Linked DNA regions of Homo sapiens: region 1 is linked to region 2. The links are contacts of gene promoters, found by promoter capture Hi-C in human tissues and cell types (Jung and others, 2019). All regions are on one chromosome and are shown on one strand. Each heading gives the region's core, a stretch centred on a gene start or on the middle of the fragment in contact. The rest is flanking DNA. Distances are from core to core; before and after follow the strand shown.

Region 1 (5,672 bases), core at 572-3,071, 270 kb after region 2:
TATCTGATGAGAAATATGCTGTCATCCTTTGGTTTCTCTATCTGTAACATGTCTAGTTCCTACTGCCTTTAATATTTCCTCTCAATTTCTGGTTTGAACAATTTTTCAAGTGTTATGTGTCATGATATTATTTTCCTTGTCTTCCTTGTGCTTGAGGTCCATTAGACCTGTTAAGGGCTTATAGTTTTCATCAAATTTGAACATTTTTCAGCCATTATTTTTTCAAATCCTTTTTCTCTCCTCCCCTCTCCTTTGGAGACTCCAATTACACACAAATTAGACTGCTAGAGGTTCTCCCACAGTTTACTGATATGCTATTCATTTTCTTCAGCCTTTTTTCTTTAATTTTGAATAACTTCTGTGCTATGTGTTCAAGTTTACTAATCTTTTATTCCACACTCTCTAATGTGCTGTTGATTCTAACAAGTGTGTTTTTCATATCACACACTAAAGTTTGCATTTTCAGAAATTTGATACTGGTCTTTTTTTTTTTTGAAATGAAGTCTCACTGTGTCACCCAGGCTGGAGTGCAGTGGCACAATCTTGGCTCACTGCAACCTCTGTCTCCTGGGTTCAAGCAATTCTCATGCCTCAGCCTCCCGAGTAGCTGGGATTACAGGTGCCCCCCTGCCCCGACCCCTACACCATACCTAACTTTTGTATTTTTAGTAGAGATGGGGTTTCACCATGTTGGCAAGGCTGGTCTCAAACTCCTGACCTCAAGTGATCCACTTGCCTCAGCCTCCCAAAGTGCTGGGATTACAGGCATGTGCCACCGCACCCAGCCTGATGCCAGTCTTTTCAATCTTTCAATGTTTCAAGCATTCCTCTACTTTCTTGAACATACAGAATATACTTTTAACTAGTTTCAATATCCTTGTCAATTAATTCTATCATGTGTCATTTCCAGGTGTTTGTATTTTTCTCATTGTGGTTGCATTTTTCTGCTTTATTGCATGATTGATAATTTTCAACTGGATACCAGACATTGAATTTCACCTTGTTGGGTGCCAGATATTTTTGCATAATATAATAATATTCTTAAGCTTCGTCCCAGTTTCTCTCAAAACTCACATTTAAGCTTTGTTAGGTAACACCAAAGCAAGCTTAGTCTAGGACTAATTTTCTTCCACTATTAATGCAATGTTCTTCTATTTATTTTTCAGACAGGGTCTCACTCTGTTGCCCAGGCTGGAGTACAGTGGCACAATCACAGATCATTGCAGCCTTGACTTCCCTGAGTTCAGGTGATCCTTCCACCTCAGCCTCCTGAGTAGCTGTGACTACAGGTGCATGCCACCACACCTGGCTAATTTTTGTATTTTTTTGTAGAGAAAGGATTTCACCATGTTGCCCAGGCTGGTCTCCAACTCCCAGGCTCAAGTGATCTGCATGCCTTGGCCTCCCAAAGTGCTAGGATTACAGGTGTGAACCACCGTACCCGGCCTGCAATGTCCCTTTAAATATTCTATCTGACCCCTTTTGAGGTATGAGGTCTTTCCTCTGTAGCTGGCAGGAATAAAATCTTTTCCCAGTCCTTTGCAAAATGCATGAAAAGAAGTGTTTATTCTGCTTCTTTTTGATGTTTACTTCCCTTGCCTGGGTTGTTACCTCACATGTATGTGCTGGTCAACCCTCTGAAGACTTGAGGCGGAAACTCTGCACATCTCCAGTTCTCTCCTCTCCAGAACTCTTCCCTGAAAACTTTATTTCCTTGGGTTGCTGTAGATTCCCAATCCCATCTCAACTCAGGGAGACTCCCCTGTGTTCCACCCAGGTTCCTACCCACTGTACTGAGGCTTGAGAAAATCTCCTTAGATGTTAAGTTTGATGAATTGTAAGGCTCACTTCATATGGTTACCTGAGAGAACAACCACCGTCCTGGAATGCCTGGTGTCCTACTGTCTGAAATTTAATTGTTTCATATTTCTTATTCAATTTTTTTTTTTTTTGAGACGGAGCTTCACTCTTGTCACCTAGACTGGAGTGCAATGGTGCGATCTCGGCTCACCACAACCTCCGCCTCCCGGGTTCAAGTGATTCTCTTGCCTCAGCCTCCTGAGTAGCTGGGATTACAGGCATGCGCCACCTTGCCCAGCTAATTTTGTATTTTTAGTAGAGACGGGGTTTCTCCATGTTGGTCAGGCCGGTCTTGAACTCCTGACTTCAGGTGATCCACCCGCCTTAGCCTCCCAAAGTGCTGGGATTACAGGCACGAGCCACTGCACCCAGCCCCAGATTTTTACTTGTTTCTGTTAAATCTGATCCCTCTTACTCCATTTTGACTAGAAGCCTACTGTTTTATTTGTTGCAGCTATGATTACAAGCCTGTTGTGGAGGAAAGACATGAACTCCTCTATGAATTTAATGAAAGCTACTGACCACATTCCCCTCATAAATGAACATTCCTTGTTATTTTAAATGTAATTTCAGGTAGGTTCATTGGCTCCTGTATCTGGTATGAAGGGCTCATGGATCCGACACTTAGAATTCTTGTTTTTTCTTTTTCTTTTGAATTTTCTTGAGTTGGCTTTCTGTTAATTCTACCCTTCTGTTCCTTTCATTTTAGTATTTAATCACTTTGCTCATCAATTTTGTCCTTTTCTTGTTCCTCAACCATCATGTTTACCTTTTTGTCTTTTTAAGTTTTTTTTTTTTTTTTTGAGACAGGATCTCACTCTGTCCCCCACGCAGGAGTGCAGTGGTACAATCTTGGCTCACAGCAGCCTTGACCTTCCAGGCTGAAGTGATCCTCCCACCTCAGCTTCCCGAGTAGCTGGGAATACAGGCATGCACCACCACATCTGGCTAATTTTTGTATTTTTTGTAGAGACAGGCTTTTGCCATATTGCCCAGGCTGGTCTTGAACTCCTGGGCTCCATCCACCCACCTCAGCCTTCCAAAGTGCTGGGATTATAGGCATGTGGCACCATGTCTAGCCTCATGTTTACTTTTTTTTTCTTTTTTTCCAGACGGAGTTTCGCTCTTGTTGCCCAGGCTGGAGTGCAATGGCGTGATGTCGGCTCACCACAACCTCCACCTCCTGGGTTCAAGCGACTCTCCTGCCTCAGCCTCCCAAGTAGCTGGGATTACAGGCACGTGCCACCAAGCTGGGCTAATTTTGTATTTTTAGTAGAGATGGGGTTTCACTACTTCTTGTATTACACACTGAAGACAAAAAGCAGGGTCATGCAGTAATAACTGTGTAGTCAGCCCATACTTTAAATGGGACACTAGTTACTTTTAAGCAGTAAACCCTGACAATGCCCACCCTTTACCTATAACCAGTCGACCTGCATTGGCATTCCTTGTTCTCCTTTCTACAACCTAAACATTGAAAACTCTAGTCTCAGTAACTCAGATCTTCCTTTAGACAGTGAGTTGTCTGTGTTTGCAATGTTTTATTTATTTATTGTTTTTTTGAGACAGGGTTTCACTTTGTCACCCAGGGTGAAGTGCAGTGATGCAATCACAACTCACTGCGTCCTCAACCTCCCAGGTTCAAGCAATCCTCCTGCCTCAGTCTCCCTAGTAGCTGGGACTACAGGCGGTGCCACCATGCCTGGCTAATTTTTGTATTTTTTGTAGAGACAAAGTTTTGCCATGTTGCCCAGGCTGGTCTCAAACTCCTGAGCTTTAGTGATCTTCCCACTTTGGCTTCCCAAAGTGCCAGGATTACAGGCACGAGAGCTACTGTGCCCAGTCACAACATTTTGAAGCTGTGAAAACAGTGGTTTTCTTCACTCATGTCACCTACAATGTAGGCCAGTGTCGTCCAACAGAAATACAAGCCACATATGTAATTCTAAATTCCCTAATATCCACATTGGCCAGGCTCGGTGGCTTACTCCTATAATCCCAGCACTTTGGAAGGCCGAGGTGAGCAGCAGATCACTTGAAATCAGCAGTTTGAGACAAGACTAGACAACAAAGTGAGACTCCACTTCTACAAAAAAATACAAAAATTAGCCAGGTATGGTGGCATGCACCTGTAGTCCCAGCTACTCAGGAGGCTGAGGTGGGAGGATGGCTTGAGCCTGGGAGGCAGAAGTTCCAGTGAGCTGAAATCAAGCCACTGCACTCCAGCCTGGTTGACAGAGCCAGACCCTGTCTCAAAAAAGAAGCAATATCAAAAAAAAGTAATTGGTGGAATTAATTTTGTTTTACGTAATCCATTATATCTAAAATATAACTATTTCAATGTTACAAACATAAAAATTATTATTGGCTGGGTGCGGTGGCTCATGCCTGTAATCCCAGCACTTTGGGAGGCTGAGGCAGGTAGATCACTTGAGGTCGGGAGTTCGAGACCAGCCTGACCAACGTGGAGAAACCCCGTCTCTACTAAAAATACAAAATTAGCTGGGTGTGGTGGCGCATGCCTGTAATCCCAGCTACTGGGGAGGCTGAGGCAGGACAATCGCTTGAACCCGAGAGGCGGAGGTTGCAGTAAGCCGAGATCATGCCACTGCACTCCAGCCTGGGTGATAGAGCCAGACTCCATCTCAGGAAAAAAAAAAAAAAAAAAAAAAAATATATATATATATATATATATATAATATAACATATAAATATATAATAGAAATACATATAATATATAAATATATATTATGTAATATAATACTAATATAATATAATATAATATAACATATATAAATAGATATATTTGTTGACATGGAGTTTTGTTCTTGTTGCCCAGGCTGGAGTGCAATGGTGTGATCTCAGCTCATTCTGAGCAGCAATTCTGCTGCCTCAGCCTCCCGAGTAGCTGGGATTACAGGCATAAACCACAACGCCTGGCTAATTTCGTATTTTTAGTAGAGACGGGGTTTTACCACGTTGGCCAGGCTGATGTGGAACTCCTGACTTCAGGTGATCCACCCCCCTCGGCCTCCCAAAGTGCTGGGTTACAGCCGTGAGTCACCGTGCCTGGCCAAATGTCTAGTTTAAAAAGTAGACTGTCGTACACAAGTTGTTCCAAACATACTTAAAGGTTTTCTAAACCAAAAAGTACGTTCCTTAGCCTTAGCACATTTTAAGTGCTCAATAGCCACTTATGGTTAGTGACAACTATATTAAACAGCATAGGCATAGGTCCTTTATGAAGAGTTACAGAATACCTCATTTCCGTGGTGATTTTGCTTTATTCCTACACAACACACTAGCACACACACATACATATATATTAAAACATTGCCTAAATCTTTGTAAGCAGATTTCACAACAGGAAGAAGTATGTCAAAATTTCAACTCAGGAATGGACTCAACATACTGATTTTAAAAAACAGTTAAGAGGTATTTAAACCTCAAATACTAATCTCTGAAAAAAGCATAGTTGAAATTCATAGCCAAATTTTTGACATTTCCCTCTCAATAACCTGTCTCCAACAAGTCTATAATCAATTCAATCTATTTATTTTTCTCTAGGCAAAGTCATAAGACCTTTTCCCCCAGGGTATATACATTCCCAATGTCCTTCTTTTTCTAAATCTTATTTATAATACGTAATAACTATAAAAATGCTGTTATAAAATATAGATACCTGCTCATAGAAATACACTTCATGAGGTATAAAAGATGCACAAAGATGTTTACTGTGGCATAATTTGTAATAATGAAAAAGCTGAGCTTCACAAAGAAATGTATTATAAATTATGATTTGTCAACTCAAT
Region 2 (5,800 bases), core at 3,066-5,565:
TGGCCTTGTCCACTTGGCAGCAAATTGGTGTTCAGGTCCTTGTTCTTTCCAGGTATTTAGGAGGATCTAATTTCCCAGTTGAAAAGGATGTAGGACCACATCTGCTGGATGAGTGGTCCTGCTAGAAGCAAACTCATGAACAGAAGTTAGTATAGTGCCTAGAGTCTTAATATTTGGTAATTGCCAAATCTCTTAAAACATCAGTTGGTTCTCCCACCAGGACAAAAACCTAGAATGGGCTACCAGATAATACTTCAAAGGGGCTCAATTTGAACCTACTTGAGGGAGCCACTCGAATCCACAACAGCAATCAGCAACATCTTATCCCAAGTCAAATTAGTTTCTTGATATATTTTGGCAATGCTTCTTTTTAGAGTATGGTTCATCTTTTCAGTTTTTCCCATGGATTGTGGTCTCTAAGATGATAATCTAAAGGTTTCAGGAAGAGACAAGTCACAGCTCCCCTGACACTCCTGTCACCATCATAGATAGTCTTTGAATTAAGGTAGGTGGGTATTAACTACAGAATACGTTGCCCCTGTATCAATAAGAAAGTCAATAAGTTTGTTCCCCACTGTCAATTTTACCCAGGGCTCCTGTGGGACTATGACAGCAGTTGGCTAAGCATACATATTCAATGTATGTATGTTACAGAAGAAGCTACGAATATTTATGAAGGTGATCCTGACACATGCGTATTGTACAAACATGCATGTTACATATGACCCATGTTTACCTTGAGGTGAAAGCGTAACATTTAAATGTACTACAATTAGGCCCTGTACATCAAAAGGTCTTTTCAGAACACAAAGGCATGCAAATGCACAATCTCTATAACTAGCTAGAACCAGTTCATGGCCAGCAGTCTTATTATCAGGAGAAAATTAGTGAAATCAGTCTTTTGTTCAATCAAAGCTATAGTTATGGCTGGTGGAACTGGGGTTCAGTTAGTCAGCATCTATGAACTGGATGAGTTGAAATTGTTTTAATATTGCTTGTCTTAAGGCCAGTGCTTGCTTAGCTGCTAGAGAAAAAGAGAAACCTTGTGTCATTGAGAATATAGCTTATTCTTTAAGTGTAAGGATGCATGACTTAACTCTTGCCTGGCATGGCCTTAGGTCCTGTTTATAATATGGTATTTTATTGCCACAAAATTTCAGTTATGTCAGTCTTATGACCTCTATTTTAACATTAGTGTTGATTAGTTATTGTATCTAAACCACAAAAGGGAGAGGGTATAATGAGGCGTATCTGACTTCCCATCACATTATACCTGAAGACTAAGTTTTTAAGGTTTTTCTGGGGTCCCCTTAGCCAAGAGGGGGTCCATTCAGTCAGCAGGGGGCTTAATATTTTATTTTTAGTTGACATTCTCCCATTTGGCCAAGATATACCAAAGGCAGCATAAATGGCCAAACTTTTATTTTGTTCCATATTGTTGCTGGGGGTGTTGTGGCTATGTGCCCCAGGTCCATCACATCCCTTGGTAGGATCCCTGTGGCTAAGGAACTCAAAGCCAAAAGACTTGTAGTCAATTAAACGTTTTAGGCCATTTGGTAAGGGAGGTGGCCAAGCATTCATTAACCCTTAAAACCTTTTAAGTAACATAAGAGCCAAAACCAAAAGCCAAATAGCAAAGGTACAAAACTGACCTTTCTATAAGTTCTATGTGTTGAGCCATCAGCTGTTTAGGCATCTGTGTACCTATATTTGGAGGATCTGAACTAATTTTACTCCTTAAAAGTAAAATTAGTACATCAAAAGGTGTTTTGTGCCCACCTCTTCCATGAGCGTCCTTGGGCCCAGAGGGATTTAATAGTTTTTTAAATCCTGGAGATATTAGGTACAGAGAGAAAGGTAAACCCAATTTCTATAAGCTATAAATAGCTCAAAAAGAAAAAAGGCGGGCCAGGCGCAGTGGCTCACGCCTGTAATCCCAGCACTTTGGGAGGCTGAGGCAGGCAGATCATGAGGTCAGGAGATCAAGACCATCTTTGCTAACATGGTGGAATCCCGTCTCTACTAAAAATACAAAAAATTAGCTGGGCGTGGTGGCACGTGCCTGTAGTCCCAGCTACTTGGGAGGCTGAGACAGGAGAATGGTGTGAACCCAGGAGGTGGAGCTTGCAGTGAGCCGAGATTGCGCCGCTGCACTCCAGCCTGGGTGACAGAGCAAGACTCCGTCTCAGAAAAAAAAAAAAGGCTTTCTTGACTCTGGAAAACAAAACATAAAGAATTAGCAACATTTCAAACTTAATTTAGGATTAGATTTTGAGGACATTTGTCAAAATGTTAAAGCCTCAAACCATTTGATCAAAACAGAACCGCCGGTCTTTGTAAAATAATAATTATTCATTTCACAAAAGTGATAATTAAAAGACTTTAATAGCAATACAGAAAGTTACATGAATATAAAGACTTAACCTTTCTAAAGCTCAGTTTTCCTAAGTAATCAAAAACCTGATAAAGATAACAAGAATGAGGAATTATCTTGAGAAAATGTAAAATCTTTCCTTTTATTTTTTGAGACAGGGTCTCACTCTGTCATCCAGGCTAAAGTGCAGTGGCACAATCATAGCTCACTACAGCCTTGAACTCCTGGACTCAAGTGATCCTCCCGCCTCAGCCTCCCCAGTAGCTAAGACTACAGGCACGCACCACCACACCCAGCTAATTTTTTTCAGAGATGGGGTCTTGCTATATTGCCCTGGCTGGTCTTGAACGAGCTTCAAGTGAGCGTGAGCCTCCTACCTCATCCTCCCAAAGCACTAGGATTACAGGCATGAGCCACTGTTTCCCAGCCTAAAATAATTGTTTCTTAGGCCAGCTACCAAAAACGCAAAGAAAAACTTTCTGTAGTGTGATTGCTTCTTCTTATGGGAAGCCCATTTAGATAACCTGTAAGTCAAACCTGATGAAAACAATACTTGAATGTAATCAGACACAGAAAGACTGTTCAAGGCTATGAGTAGCTGAGTCCAAGCTCGTATCACTTGCCACACAACAGCCAATAAGTCTAGAGACAAGGTATTGTGGCAAGGAAAGCTACCTTATTCAGAGAACCAGAAAACCAAGAAGATGGTGGACCAGCATCATAAAGAACCATCTGAAGTCAGCATGAACGTTAGGCTCTTCTTTATGTTAAGGGAAGGGGAAGAAGAAGGGGATTGGGATCAAGAGGTGACTGATGACCACAGACACCTGGGTGCCAGCAAGGGTCTGAGGACGTTGTAAAACTTCTTTTTTCTAGGTCAGGTCACAATGTTCCTATACATCTTTAACATAACATTGTTATTTGTCTGTATATTTCCTTATCTCCTTGGGGGTTAGTTTGGGGAAAGGAACTGTTACCATTTTTTTTAAAGTTGAACTGCAAGCTAAACTCCTATAATTAGCTGGTCTATGTACAGAGCTAAGCAGAAGCTTTTAGCCTAAAGGATAATACCCCTGGGGGTCAGAGGCAAAATGGAGTCAGTCATGCTAAGTCTCCCTCCACTCTCTTTCTTTTTTGAGATGGAATTTCACTCTTATTGCCCAGGCCGGAGTGCAGTGGCATGATCTCAGCTCACTGCAACCTCCGCCTCCTGGGTTCAAGCAATTCTCTTGCCTCAGCCTCCTGAGTAGCTGAGATTACAGGTGTCCATCACCACACCCAGCTAATTTTTGTAGTTTAGTGGAGATGGGGTTTCACCATTGTTGGTCAGGCTGGTCTGGAACTCCTGACCTCAGGTGATCTACCCACCTTGGCCTCCCAAAGTGCTGGGACAGGTGTGAGCCACCATGCCTGGCCCCTCTACTCTTATAATTAAACCAGCTGTTGCTTTTCCTGCCAAGAAACCAGTCATGAAGATTCACCCATGTTCTAGATGGGAAAACTGGGCTGTAGCCTGGGAGAGGCCAGTCAGGGACAAAGCCAAAGTTAATATAGAGAATGGAGCTTCCAGGGTATAGGGGTTGGGTCTGGGCTAGGGAGCTGGAAACCTAGGTTTTACGCTTGTCCCAGTTTTGATGTTAGCCCTGAGCAGTGCTGTTTCTCATCAGCCTCTGCCTGCTCCAGGGGTCACAGGGCCAAGCCAGATAGAGGGCTGCTAGCGTCACTGGACACAAGATTGCTTTCCCACAGCTGTCCTTCCTCCAGCCCCTCTGCTCCCCATCCGGAAACCTGGGTACCCTTCACCCACCTAGCTCTGTCCCGCAGTGAGATTTATTGCTGACTGCCCTGCCATCTACCCCAGGGTAATAAATCAGGGCAGAGCAGAATTGCAATCACCCCATGCATGGAGTGTATAAAAGGGGAAGGGCTAAGGGAGCCACAGAACCTCAGTGGATCTCAGAGAGAGCCCCAGACTGAGGGAAGCATGGATGGATGGAGAAGGATGCCTCGCTGGGGACTGCTGCTGCTGCTCTGGGGCTCCTGTACCTTTGGTCTCCCGACAGACACCACCACCTTTAAACGGTAATTGGTAACTCAGGCAGAGAAGGGGTGGGAGGGGTGCAGGGTTCCCACCTTCCCAACACCCTGGCTTTTCCACATGCGGTGTCATTCAGTCCTTACGATCAGCTGGACAGGGAAGTATGGACCTGTTCAGAGAGGTCAAGTGACTTGCCCAATAAATGACACTAGTAGTCAGGTCTAGAAGCTGTGACTTTTGCTTCCTGCCCAGAGCACCATGCTAACTAAGCACTGTAGAGAACTCAGAAGTATTAGGACATGCCCCTTGCACTTGAGGAGCTCACAGCCTGAATATTAAGAAGGGCATGGGTGGTTGGGCGCGGTGGCTCCTGCCTGTAATCCCAGCACTTTGGGAGGCTGAGACGGATCACTTGAGGTCAGGAGTTTGAGACCAGCCTGGCCAACATGGGGAAACCCCATCTCTACTAAAAATACAAAAATTAGCCGGGCATGGTGGCAGGCACTTGTAATCCCCAGCTACTCGGGAAGCTGAGGCAGGAGAATCGTTTGAGCCCGGAAGGTGGAGATTGCTGAGCCAAGATCGTGCCACTGCACTCCAGCCTGAGTGACAGAACAAGACTCCATCTCAAAAAAAAAAAAGACGGGGGTCGGGGCATGGGTACAGTTAACTGTACCAGGGAAGCAGCTTGATATCGTGGTTAAATGCAAGGCTTATAGAGTTAGATTGCCTTCATTTAAATTTTGCTTCACTAGCAGAACAAACTAGGTCTGGAATCATGGGCAAGTTATTTAACCTCTCCAAGTCTCAGTTTATCATTTTAAACAGGTATGATAATAACAGTACCTACTTGATGGGGCTGCTTTGGGGATTTTAGGAGATAAGGCATAGAAAGCTGGGCACGTTGTAAGAGCCCAGCTACTGTTAGTACTACAGGATAGATTCTTACAAATATCAAAAGCAAGGTTTGGCCGGGAGCAGTGGCTCACGCCTATAATCCCAACACTTTGGGAGGCCGAGGGGGGCAGATCACCCGAGGTCAGGAGTTCAAGACCAGCCTGACCAACATGGAGAAACCCTGTCTCTACTAAAAATACAAAATTAGCCGGGCGTGGTGGCACATGCCTGTAATTCCAGCTACTTGGGAGGCTGAGGCAGGAGAATCGCTTGAACCTGGGAGGCTGAGGTTGCAGTGAGCCGACATAGCGCCATTGCACTCCAGCCTGGTCAACAAGAGCAAAACTCAGTCTAAAAAAAAAAAAGAAAGAAAAAAACAAGGCTTTAGGTAGCCCACAATTAGAAGGAGAAAACCTTAGCATCCCCTAGGTGCCAGGCCTTGTGGGAACAAGTGATTCATTAAGACTGTAGAAGGAAGCTGGGCACGCGGC

The links. Contacts are between HindIII fragments. The study calls those that stand out against the background at their distance.
Region 1: a fragment that was not itself captured here is called in contact with the fragment with the promoter of REN in region 2 in 1 of the 25 tissues and cell types used here (neural progenitor cells).

The regions. Positions count from the first base shown.
Region 1 is chr1:203,889,161-203,894,832 of GRCh38, reverse strand. No RefSeq gene overlaps it. Among named protein-coding and RNA genes, the nearest start is that of SNRPE, 30 kb to the right of the region's middle. RefSeq lists an enhancer at 5,349-5,672. The HindIII fragment of the contact is 3,154 bases long and covers 245-3,398 here.
Region 2 is chr1:204,164,852-204,170,651 of GRCh38, reverse strand. It overlaps REN (renin), which reads left to right and starts at 4,315. Exons shown (of 10, transcript NM_000537.4): 1 at 4,315-4,456. The coding sequence starts at 4,359. RefSeq lists cis regulatory regions at 397-1,495, 4,056-4,071, 3,941-4,248, 4,233-4,255, promoters at 3,732-4,166, 4,167-4,318, 1-4,330 and a silencer at 4,459-5,800. The HindIII fragment of the contact is 7,868 bases long and covers 979-5,800 here.